3 separate regions of the Homo sapiens genome follow, and all the other regions are linked to region 1. The links are contacts of gene promoters, found by promoter capture Hi-C in human tissues and cell types (Jung and others, 2019). All regions are on one chromosome and are shown on one strand. Each heading gives the region's core, a stretch centred on a gene start or on the middle of the fragment in contact. The rest is flanking DNA. Distances are from core to core; before and after follow the strand shown. Region 1 holds the start of SCAMP3 (secretory carrier membrane protein 3). Region 2 overlaps ASH1L (ASH1 like histone lysine methyltransferase). Region 3 overlaps ASH1L (ASH1 like histone lysine methyltransferase).

Region 1 (3,769 bases), core at 191-2,690:
TTTTTTTCTTTTCTTCTGGGGATGGAGTGTGGGGTTGTCTCTCTGCCACCCAGGCTGGAGTGCAGTGGTGCAATCATCACTCATCGAAGCCTCAAACTCCTGGGCCCAAGCAGTCTTTCCATCCCAGCCTCCCAAGTAGCAAGGACTACAGGCATGTGCCACTACACCTAGCCAATTTTTAAAACGTTTCAAGAGATGGGGGTCTCGCTGTTGCCCAGGATGGTCTCCATCAAATTCCTGGGCTCAAGCAATCCTCCCACCTCAGCCTCCCAAGTGGGATTACAGGCATGCACACCATGCTTGGCTTTTTTTTTTAAGTTTTAAGTACCATGAAAACCCCTTAAATTCTTACAACTCACCATCTTCTAATCCAGTGGGACAAACAGGTGTAGTCCTCCTCATTCCTTGCTTTCAAACTGCACACCTAACCTAAACTCCAACCAGCCCCAACCTTTATTTTCTTCAAGAAAGCCTTCCCATACAGAACATTGGTTAAGGCCTTGCCAGCCTCCAGATCTTCCCAGGACTGACTTTTAGAGCTCAAACCATTTGGGTTGGTGGCCCTGGTGGCCCTAGAAGGATGAGGCATCCCATGGCTGACTAGCCTCTCTCAGGGAACTAAGATCACAGTGCCTCTTCCTTCCTGTGCATGCAGAAAAGTCCCCTGTACCCAAGCTAACTTGTCTCACTGGCAAACCCTTCCCTTCCTTGAACTCCTATGCTCTCCAGTAGCTCACCTCCCGGGTCTCAAAAGGGTTGTAGACGTCAAGCGTGGCATACTGCCGGCTGGGTCGGTGCTGGATCACAGCTGGGTCCTGAGGGCAGAGACCCGGGTCTCAGCTGGCACCCAGTGCCACCTAGGGGAATTCCCAGGGACCATTCCCAAACTGCCTGTGGCTCCAAGTACTGCACCTTCGGGGCCACGCCGTTGTCCCAGGACTGGGACAACATTTACCTCAAATCCATCATCCAACACTGCCAGCACCAGCCCATTAAGGGGCAGGGCCCGCCCCCCAGAGTGCTCACTGGTCTGGAGTCACTGTCACCCCACGTGGCGGCTCTTCCCAGGATCAAATGTCACAAATGGGGATACAAGTTAGCCCGACCCTACAGAACCGGGAAGAATCAACCTGACCGCCCAAAAGAGGCCGACTGGCGCAAGTCACCTGAAAGGGGTTGTCAAGCTCGCTGGGCTCGGCGAACGGGTTTCCGCCGTCTCTGCTCTGAGCCATGTTTGCAACTGCGGCCTCCGCGGCCCTCTGCCCTCCACGCCCCTGCCGCAGCAGTGGCGGTAGCGGTAGCCCTCAGAGTCCACTTCACTCGCCTCAGTTCGCCCCGCTTCTCTGTGCACGGATTGGTTCCACCGACCGGAAGGGCCACAAGGATCCCCGCAGCAGCCGTGGGTTGCGCCTGCGTCTTGTCCAAAAGCTAAGACGAAAGTGCCCCCACGTGATACCTCTAACCCAGTGCCCACAACCAACTACCGCCCCTCTTCCATGTGACTTCCTTCCACTAACGAACTACACTTCCCAGCAGGCCTCGCGTAGGAATCCGGCCTTCCTAGTCTCCCGAGATGGACGACGGGAGCCTTCTGACCGGTCGTGGCAATCCCCCCTAGGAGCCAGGTTGAGCACGTTTTCAACCTGAGTTTCTGGCTCTATACTGGGCCGCGGCCTAATGACTCTAGGAGTCAGATCTTTCCCAACTCTCATAATTCCACATCCGAGAAGTGCCACCTCATAACACTTCTCTGTTTTAATCTGAAAGAAATGCTGCCCCACCCATCACTACCCTCCCATATGATAAGGTGGACAGGGGAAATAAACTGGTAGCCTGGCTGTGCTTCATTTTGGAGGGTAAGGAGGACTCCCTTCATACCCAAACTCAGAAAGTTTGCCAATAGTTTCATCCCTCCACCCCAGCATTCCCAAACCTCCAACTCCAGGGATGGGGGTCAAATGAAGCACGTTATTTTATTTCACAAAGACTGTACAAAATTCCTTATAAAACATGGGGTAGATGCCACCTGGTTACCTCACTCGGCCCCCATCCAACTCCGTATGAGGGGGCAGGTGAGGGTGGAAACTGTGTGGATGGAATAGTATTATGTACAAGGCAGGGGTTGAAGTGATAGGTACAAGTTCTTTCATATTTACACTATTTCACATATTCACAGGTATATAGAGAGCCAGGAGGAAGGAGTGAACTCTGGCTCGTTCTCTTGTATAAAAAAGCACCAGTGTCCTGGACTGGACACCCACTGCTATAAAAGATGCAGGGGGGCCCAGGGCCTGATCGTCACCGACTGATATCCCGACTGGAGTCCCACAACTTGTTGGGCGGCTCAGCCCGAAGGCGGGCGAAGAAAGGATGCTGAAGGGCTTCACCCAAGGTCAGCCGCTTAGCTGGTTCATACTCTAGCATGCTTTCAATCAGATCGAAGAGCTGGTGGTGTTCCTCTGCCTCTGAGGTCAGATACCGCTGGTGGAGGAGGGCAGGAAAAAGGTGAGGCAGGATGCCTTACAAACCCTGCCTTCTTCAAGACCCTACCTTTCATTCTTGGAGAACCAAGGCTCTGCTTGCAACCAATTTGAAGGCTACCTAACCACGACCACACCAGGACCAACGTTTCTGATATTATAGCTCAACCTACCTTCCCACTAGCACAATTACTCCATAATCTTTGAAAGTTCTTTCTACTTGTATATCCTTGTCAACTTCATGAATCTTCTTTAGTTCCTCATTAAAATGTAAGCTCTTCAAAGGTAGTTTATTCTTTTCTGTCTGACCTAAAGAATCCAGGACATTGCTTTGATCTCTGGTTGTCTCAAGGTTAGGCTGTCTAACCTCCTTCCCTCCACAAAACCACTCCCTCTTATGTTTCCTCTGTTGACCAAAGATGTCTTCTTTCAGCTTTCCTCCCCTCCTTTCCTAACCCTCTGCTTGTGAAGAGCATTCCAGGGGGCAAACCACCCTAAGAAGGAAGTGACTTCTGGACGGTGGGCACTATTTATCCCGAGCCCAGCTCACCCGCAGCGGTTTGCAGTTCTCACGAACATAGCGCCCAGCTGATGTGTTCTCATCCCAATCCAGGCGACCCCGGTAAAAATATTTCTGCTTTCTAGAGGGGAAGGGGAGGTTGAGGAATCAGAAGGTCACCCTTGTTACAATTCCCTTATTTCCCCATCTGAAAGTAACTGGGGGGAGAGGAGGTATCAAAGAAAAAAGAAAATGATGTGAAATAGACCAATTCTGTGGAGAGAAAAGGAAAAGAGTTAACTAGTGCCCCCTCAAGGTTCACCTTGTCTTTCGGATCATCCGGGAAGGGATAGGACCCAAGATCCTTTCCATCATGGCTAGATGCTCTCTGTTGTCATGGGTCTGGGAAACAAAAACAGAACTGAGCATGGGACTGAAAAGGGCATGCTAAGGATCAGCTGCCAGGAAGGCAGGCAATGTGGAGAACTGAGTAGGCAGGTCCTCAGCAGAAAACAAAGGAACCAGGTAGAAGAATGCCAGGCAGTCAAGTAAGACATCCCATCACTTACCTGGAAGAGGGTGAATCCCACATAGTATTCAAAGATGATGCAGCCTATACTCCACACATCACAAGGCTGTGACCAGCCCAACTCTGGGTGAGAATGGGAGGGAAAAGGTGTTATGAGGCTTAGGTGGCCCCACCCTCACATCATCTCACACACTTGGACAGCCTTGCCCTCCCTTACCAAGGATGACTTCTGGTGCTCGGTAATGGCGAGTGGAGACAATG
Region 2 (4,219 bases), core at 1,039-3,538, 140 kb after region 1:
TGATATCTTGTCTCTACTAAAAATACAAAAAATTAGCCGGGAGTGGTGGTGGGCACCTGTAATCTCACCTACTTGGGAGGCTGAGGTAGGAGAATTGCCTGAACCCCGGAGGTGGAGGTTACAGAAAGCCAAGATCGTGCTATTGCACACCAGCCTGGGTGACAGAGTGAGACTCTAAGAAAAAAAAAGAGCATACTGGCTTCCGGGAACAGTGGCTCATGCCTGTAATCCCAGCACTTTGGGAGGCCAAGGCAGGTGGATCACCTGAGGTCAGGAGTTTGAGACCAGCCTGGCCAACATGGTGAAACCCCGCCTCTACTAAAGATACAAAAAATTAGCTGGGCGTGGTGGCAGGCGCCTGTTATCTCAGCTACTTGAGAGGCTGAAGCAGGAAAACTGCTTGAACCCAGGAGGTGGAGGTTGCAGTGAGCCAAGGTTGCACCACTGCACACCAGCCTGGGTGACAGAGCAAGACTGTCTAAAAAAAAAAAATCATACTAGCTGGGCATGGTGATTGTGCCACTGCCAGACTCCGTCTCAAACAAACAAACAAACAAACAAACAAACATCATATCAGGGTTAAAATACTTCTGAACATCATCTACAGACAACAGGAAAACAGACTCCCTTAATGTTCTTTCATAAACAATATGGCAACTTTTGCCCTGGGGATATGAATTTGAAGAAGGGGGAGGCATCATTTTTTCATAATGTCACCTTTCCCTAACCTTGCTCCAATCCAGACCATTTTACTGCACAACTTAAAATCCTCAAGGAATACGGCACTTTTAGATAAAAAGGTAAAATTATATTTCAGATTACTATATAAACTTTATGCTAAAAAGTACAGAATGTAAAAAATGGACATGTTATTCTAGAGCTAATCTTTTAAATAAAAAAAAGGAATTAATCAAATGGTCCAGACAAGTTATCCATGTTTTACTGCTTTGTTTTGTTTTTAAAGACAGGGCCTTGTTCTGCCACCCAGGTTGTACAGTGGTGCAATCATAATTCAATGCAGCCTTGAACTCCTAAGGCTCAAGCAATCCCACCATCCCAGTCTACTGAGTAACTAGGACTACAGGTCTGTGTGCCACTATGCCTGGATAATTATTTAAAAACTTTTTGTAGAGATGGGGTCCTCACCATGATGTCTAGGCTGGTCTCAAACTCCTGGCCTCAAGCAATCCTCCTACCTTGGCCTCCCGAAGTACTGGGATTACAAGTATGAGCCACCACACCCAGCCAAGTTATACTTTTTTTTTTTTTTTTTTTCAGCATAAAAAGACATTGAAGGCCGGGTATGGTTGCCTGTAATCCCAGCACTTTGGGAAGCTGAGGTGGGTGGATCACCTAAGGTCAGGAGTTCAAGACCAGCCTGGCCAACATGGTGAAACCCGTCTCTACTAAAAAAAAAAAAATACACAAATTAGCCAGGTGTGGTAGCGCACGCCTGTAATCCCAGCTACTTGGGAGGCTGAGACAGGAGAATCGCTTGAACCTGGGAGGCAGAGGTTACAGTGAGCCAAGATCGTGCCATTGCACTCCAGTCTGGGTGACAAGAGCGAAACTCCATCTCAAAAAAAAAAAAGAGCTGGTGGTGGTGCAAATGCCTCTAATCCCAGCCTTTTGGAGGTTGCAGCTGAAGGATCATTGTGGAAGGATCCCAGGAGTTTCAGACCAGCCTAGGCAATGGAGTGAAACTCCTGTTTCAAAAAAAACCAAAAAAACCCACAAAAGATATGTCAGTACTGTAGAAGCTAAGTAAAGTAGGGAAAAGTACAAACAACTCTGCAGCCAATTATTGCCAGAACTCAAATGTTAACTATGCTATTGACTAACTGTAAAACTCTAGACAAATTACTTAAGTTTCTCTAATTCTCTAAGCCTTAGCTTCTTCAATAATATTAATAATACCTGTTCTCTCACAAGGTTCTTGAATAAATTTATAAGATAACATATATAAACTCATTAGCACAGTAACTGGCACATAATAGGTATGCAAGAAGTATTAACTTTCTTTTTACTTCTTCAGTATTAGCCCAGACTAATATACCTGAAAAAATTCCAAATATATTAGGGAACTAGATGCAAAAATTGAATCCAAGCAATTACCAGAAGAAAACAAAAGTAAATTTCTTACTTGCTTAAAATTTGTGTGTGGGAGAGCTTTTCTAATGACTTGAAATACAGAAGCTTTTTTTGGAGGGCGGCGATCTATTCTGCAGAAGCTGTATCCCCTCTTTCACTTCCTGCTGCAGCCAATAAAGGCCGTTCCTACCATTAAAAAAAAAAAAAAATAGCCAGGTATGGTGATGCCATGCCTGTAATCCCAGCTACTCGGGAGGCTGAGGCAGGAGAATCGCTTGAACCTGGAAGGCAGAGGTTGCAGTGAGCCAAGAACGCACCATTGCACTCCAGCCTGGGCAACAAGAACGAAACTCCGTCTCAAAAAAAAAAAAAAAAAGGAAGCAACCTGGGCACGGTGGCTCACACCTACAATCCTAGCACTTTGGGAGGCCAAAGAGGGACTTGACTCAAGAGTTCAAGACCAGCCTGGGCAACATAGAGAGACCCTGTCTCTGAAAAAATAAAAAAATTAGTCCAGTGTGGTGGCATGTACCTGTAGTCCCAGCTACTGGAGGAGGCTGAGGTAAGATGAACGCTTGAGTCTAGGAGGTGGAGACTGTAGTGAGCTGGTATTATGCCACTGTACTCTAGTCTGGATGAGAGGTAGACTCTGTCTTTAAAAAAGAAAAAAATCCAGAAGCAATTTAAAAATAAAGGCCAGATATAGTGGCTAACCCCTGTAATCCCAACACTTTGGAAGGACAAGGCAGGAGGATCACTTGAGGCCAGGAGCTCAAGACCAGCTCAGGCAACATGGCAAGACCTCATTGTCTCTACAAAAAATAAAAAAATTAGCTAGATGTGGTGACGATGTGAATGATCTTAAGCAAAGTCAAGACACACATGACGGAATCCACTAAAAGACTCTTAGGACTAACACCTAGGTTACAGGAGACAAACTCAATACATGAAACACATCTGTCAGGGTAAACTGGTGGGAAAAAAAAATCAATTGTATTTCTATACATAGCAATAAACAATCCAAAAATTTAATTTAAAATATCCAATTGGAGGGCTGGGCGTGGTGGCATGCCTGTCATCCCAGCACTTTGGGAGGCTGAGGCAGGCGGATCACGAGGTCAAGAGATCGAGACCGTCCTGGCCAACACGGTGAAACTCTTTCTCTACTAAAAACACAAAAATCAGCTGAGTGTGGTGGTGCGTGCCTGTGGTCCCAGCTACTCGGGAGGCTGAGGCAGGAGAATCGCTTGAACCTGGGAAACAGAGGTTGCAGTAAGCTGAGACCGCACCACTGCACGCCAGCCTGGTGACAGAGTGAGACTCCATCTAAAAAAAAATAATAATAATAGAATAAAAATAAAAAAATAAAAATAAAAAATCCAATTCCAATTACAACAATTACAATAGCAGTAAATTAAAAAAAAATTCTTGGGAACAAGATTAACAAAAGAAGAATAGCACCTGTACACTAAAAACTATAAAACACTGTTAAAAGTTTTGAGGCCAGGGGCAGTGACTCGTGCCTGTAATCCCAGCACTTTAGGGGGCTGAGGGGGGGGCAGATCACTTGAGGTCAGGAGTTCGAGACCAGCCTGGCCAACATGGTGAAACCCTGTCTCTACAAAAATATAAAAATTAGCCAGGTGTGTTGGCATGCACCCATATTCCTAGCTAATCAGGAGGCTGAGGCACGAGAATCACTTGAACCCAAGAGGGGGAAGTTGCAGTGAGCCGAGATGAAGCCGCTGCCCTCAAGCCTAGGCGACAGAGTGAGACTCAGTCTCATTAAAACAAACAAACAAAACAACAACAACAAACACTGTTAAAAGTTTTGGTTAAAGATCAAAATAGGTCGGGCATGGTCACTCATCCCTGTAATCTTAGCAATTTGGGAGGCCTAGGTGAGTGAATCACCTGAGGTCAGGAGTTCAAGATCAGCTTGACCAACATGATGAAACCCTGTCTCTACAAAACTACAAAAAATTAGCCGGGCATGGTGGTGTGGGCCTGTAGCCCCATCTGTTTGGGAGGCTGAGGCAGGAGAATCACCTGAACCTGGGAGGTGGAGGTTGCAGTGAGCCAAGATCAGGCCACTGCACTCCAGTCTGGGTGAGAGAGCGATTCTCTG
Region 3 (4,156 bases), core at 1,244-3,743, 170 kb after region 1:
ACCTGGCTTCGGATGCCTGCCTTCTTGCCCCCTCCAGGCGGTGGAGGTGATGGGCCAGGGGGGCCGGAGCCGGGCTGGGTTGATCCTCGGACCTGGCTAAGCTTCCAAGGCCCTCCTGGAGGGCCAGGAATCGGGCCGGGAGTTGGGTCAGGCTCTGAGGTGTGGGGGATTCCCCCATGCCCCCCGCTGTATGAGTTCTGTGGGGGGATGGCGTACTGTGGGCCTCAGGTTGGAGTGCGGCTAGTGCCCCAAGGCGGCTTGGAGACCTCTCAGCCTGAGGGCGAAGCAGGAGTCAGGGTGGAGAGCAACTCCGATGGCACCTCCCTGGAGCCCTGCACCGTCCCCCCTGGTGCCGTGAAACTGGAGAAGGAGAAGCTGGAGCAAAACCCGCAGGAGTCCCAGAACATCAAAGCTCTGCAGAAAGAACTCGAACAATTTGCCAAGCTCCTGAAGCAGAAGAGGATCACCCTGGGATATACACAGGCCGATGTGGGGCTCACCCTGGGGGTTCTATTTGGGAAGGTGTTCAGCCAAACGACCATCTGCCGCTTTGAGGGTCTGCAGCTTAGCTTCAAGAACATGTGTAAGCTGCGGCCCTTGCTGCAGAAGTGGGTGGAGGAAGCTGACAACAATGAAAATCTTCAGGAGACATGCAAAGCAGAAACCCTCTTGCAGGCTCGAAAGAGAAAGCGAACCAGTATCGAGAACCGAGTGAGAGGCAACCTGGAGAATTTGTTCCTGCAGTGCCCGAAACCCACACTGCAGCAGATCAGCCACATCGCCCAGCAGCTTGGGCTCGAGAAGGATGTGGTCCGAGTGTGGTTCTGTAACCGGTGCCAGAAAGGCAAGCAATCAAGCAGCGACTATGCATAACGAGAGGATTTTGAGGCTGCTGGGTCTCCTTTCTCAGGGGTACCAGTATCCTTTCCTCTGGCCCCAGGGCCCCATTTTGGTACCCCAGGCTATGGGAGCCCTCACTTCACTGCACTGTACTCCTCGGTCCCTTTCCCTGAGGGGGAAGCCTTTCCCCCGTCTCCGTCACCACCCTGGGCTCTCCCATGCATTCAAACTGAGGTGCCTGCCCTTCTAGGAATGGGGGACAGGGGGAGGGGAGGAGCTAGGGAAAGAGAACCTGGAGTTTGTGCCAGGGCTTTTGGAATTAAGTTCTTCATTCACTAAGGAAGGAATTGGGAACACAAAGGGTGGGGGCAGGGGAGTTTGGGGCAACTGGTTGGAGGGAAGGTGAAGTTCAATGATGTTCTTGATTTTAATCCCACATCATGTATCACTTTTTTCTTAAGCCTGGGACACAGTAAAAAAAAAAAAAAAAAAAAAAAATTGAAAAGACCCTAAGATCTAACAGTATATAAGAATTTAGGATGGTGGGGCGCCGTAGCTCACACCTGTAATCCCAGCACTTCGGGAGGCCGAGGCGGGAGGATCATCAGGTCAGGAGTTTGAGACCAGCCTGACCAATATGGTAAAAACCCGTCTCTACTAAAAATACAAAAAAATTAGCCAGGCATGGTGGTGTGGTGGTGTGCGCCTGTAATCCCAGCTACTCAGGAGGAGAATCACTTGAACCTGGGAGGCAGAGGTTGCAGTGAGCCGAGATTGTGCCACTGTATACCAGCCTGGGCGACAGAGCGAGACTCCGTCTCAAAAAAAAAGAAAAAAAGAATTTAGTGCTGGGTGTGGTGAGTCATGCCTGTAATCACAGTACTTTGGGAGGCCAAGGCAGGCGGATCACTTGAGGTCAGGAGTTCAAGACCAGCCTGGCCAACATGGGGAAACCCCGTCTCTACTAAAAATACAAAAATTAGCTGGGCATGGTGGCGCATGCTTGTAATCCCAGCTACTTGGGTGGCTGAGGCATGAGAATCACTTGAACCCAGGAGACAGAGGTTGCAGTGAGCCAAGATTGCGCCACTGCATTCCAGCCTGGGTGACTCGGTCTCAAAAACAATAACAACAACAGCAACAACAAAAACTTAGTGTATGATAAATGTATCATTCCAAATAAGTTGGGAATGGCTAAACTAATCAATAGTACTGAAAGAAAATTAAACCTCTAACTCATAGCTAATATTCAGTATTACATAAGTGACATAAAGAGCTAAATATAAAAAAGCAAGATCTAGTCAATCACAACAGTGTAATTACATAAATTATGATATATTCCTACCACAGTATAAGGTAATTCTGTATGTTCTGATGACAAGCTCTCAGCATTAAAGAATACACAATGTACTGTTAATAGCGTTATCCATGGAGAGAAGAATGGGATAAGAGCAAGTGAGAGCATGTGAAAAGAGACTTTTACTTTTAAATCAGTAAACTACTAGTTTAATTAAATTATTTATTACCAGCGTGTATTGCTCCTGAAATTAAAAAATATATTCTCTAGAAAAAAGCAATTATTTTTATATAGGTGGATGGAAAAAAAAAAAAACCCTCTCTATACAGGATTCACCAGGAGAGATGATAGAGAATATGAGTAAGAGTGAACATGCCACATTAAGAAAAGCCATTTATAAATGATGAACATTAAATTGGTTCATTAAAAAATATTAAATATGGGCCAGGCGTGGTGGCTCACGCCTGTAATCCCAGCACTTTGGGAGGCTGAGACGGGTGGATCACCTGAGGTCAGGAGTTCGAGGCTAGCATGGCCAACATGGTGAAACCTCGTCTCTACTAAAAATACAAAAATTAGCCAGGCATGGTGGTGCGCACCTGTAATCACAGCTGCTCAAGAGGCTGAAGCAGGAGAATCACTTGAAACCACGAGGTGGAGGGTGCAGTGAGTGGAGATCGTGCCATTGCACTCCAGGCTGGGTGACAGAGTGAAACTCCATCTCAAAAAATAAATAAATAAAAATAAGAATGGTTTATTGCCTGTGGCTTTGTTATTACATCTAAGAAATCACGGCCAAATTCAATGCTGTGAAGCTTTTGCCCTATATTTTCTCCTAAGAGTTTACAGTTTTATTTTTATTTATTTATTTATTTATTTTGAGACAAAGTTTCGCTCTTGTTGCCCAGGCTGGAGTGTGATGGTGCAATCTCGGCTCACTGCAACCTCTCCACCTCCCGTGTTCAAGGGATTCTCCTGCCTCAGCCTCCTGAGTAGCCGGGATTACAGGCATGTGCCACCATGCCCAGCTAATTTTGTATTTTTAGTAGAGACGGGGTTTCTCCATGTTGATCAGGCCGGTCTCGAACTCCTGACCCTCAGGTGATCCAGCTGCCTCAGCCTCCCAAAGTGCTGGGATTACAGGCGTGAGCCACCATGCGTGGACTTTTTTTTTTTTTTTTTTTTTTTGAGAAGGAGTCTCGCTTTGTCACCCAGGCTGGAGTGCAGTGGCGCAATCTCGGCTCATCACAACCTCCGCCTCCTGGGTTCAAGCAATTCTCCTGCCTCAGCCTCCCAAGTAGCTGGGATTACAGGCACACACCACCACGCCTGGCTAATTTTTCTATTTTTAGTAGAGACGGGGTTTCACTATGTTGGTTAGGCTGGTCTTGAACTCCTGACCTCGTGATCCGCCCACCTTGGCCTCCCAAACTGCTAGAATTACAGGCGTGAGCCACCACGCCTGGCCAAGAGTTTCTGGTTTTAGATTTTACATTTACATCTTTGATCCATTTTGAGTTAGATTTTGTATATGGTTTAAAGTAAGACTACAACTTCATTCTTTTGCATGCAGATACCCAGTTTTCCCAGCATGATTTGTCAAAAAGACTGTCTTTTACCCTGCTGAATGGTTTTGGCACCTTTGTCAAAAATCATCTGACCATGCATGCAAGGTTTTATTTCTGGGCTCTCTATTCTACTTCGCTGGTCTATATGTCTCTCTTTATGCTACTACCATACGGTTTTGATTACCATAGCTTTATAGATAAAACAGACAATTGGACTTCATAGATATCAGAAAATTTTGTACGTCAAAAGACAGCATAAACAAAGTAAAAATGCAATCCACAGAATAGGAGAAAAGATTTGCTTATATGCCGGTTAAGAGAATAATATCCAGAATATATTGAGAACTGCTAAAACTCAACAACAAACCAAATAGCCCAATCAAAAAATTGAAAAAGCGATTGAGTAGACACTTCTCTAAAGATACATAAATGGCCAATAAGCGTATGAAAA

Evidence for each region. Contacts are between HindIII fragments. The study calls those that stand out against the background at their distance.
Region 2: a contact is called between a fragment that was not itself captured here and the fragment with the promoter of SCAMP3 in region 1, in 1 of the 25 tissues and cell types used here (heart right ventricle).
Region 3: a fragment that was not itself captured here is called in contact with the fragment with the promoter of SCAMP3 in region 1 in 2 of the 25 tissues and cell types used here (IMR-90 fibroblasts and adrenal gland).

Annotation. Positions count from the first base shown.
Region 1 is chr1:155,260,920-155,264,688 of GRCh38, forward strand. It overlaps SCAMP3 (secretory carrier membrane protein 3), which reads right to left and starts at 1,441. Exons shown (of 9, transcript NM_005698.4): 1 at 1,167-1,441; 2 at 738-815. The coding sequence starts at 1,232. It overlaps CLK2 (CDC like kinase 2), which reads right to left. Exons shown (of 13, transcript NM_001294338.2): 9 at 3,726-3,769; 10 at 3,549-3,631; 11 at 3,302-3,381; 12 at 3,031-3,121; 13 at 1,949-2,481. The coding sequence ends at 2,299. The HindIII fragment of the contact is 10,284 bases long and covers 1-3,769 here.
Region 2 is chr1:155,401,607-155,405,825 of GRCh38, forward strand. All of the region lies in intron 6 of ASH1L (ASH1 like histone lysine methyltransferase), which reads right to left. Among named protein-coding and RNA genes, the nearest start is that of MIR555, 57 kb to the left of the region's middle. The HindIII fragment of the contact is 7,949 bases long and covers 1-4,219 here.
Region 3 is chr1:155,433,190-155,437,345 of GRCh38, forward strand. All of the region lies in intron 5 of ASH1L (ASH1 like histone lysine methyltransferase), which reads right to left. It also overlaps the pseudogene POU5F1P4. Among named protein-coding and RNA genes, the nearest start is that of MIR555, 89 kb to the left of the region's middle. The HindIII fragment of the contact is 6,117 bases long and covers 1-4,156 here.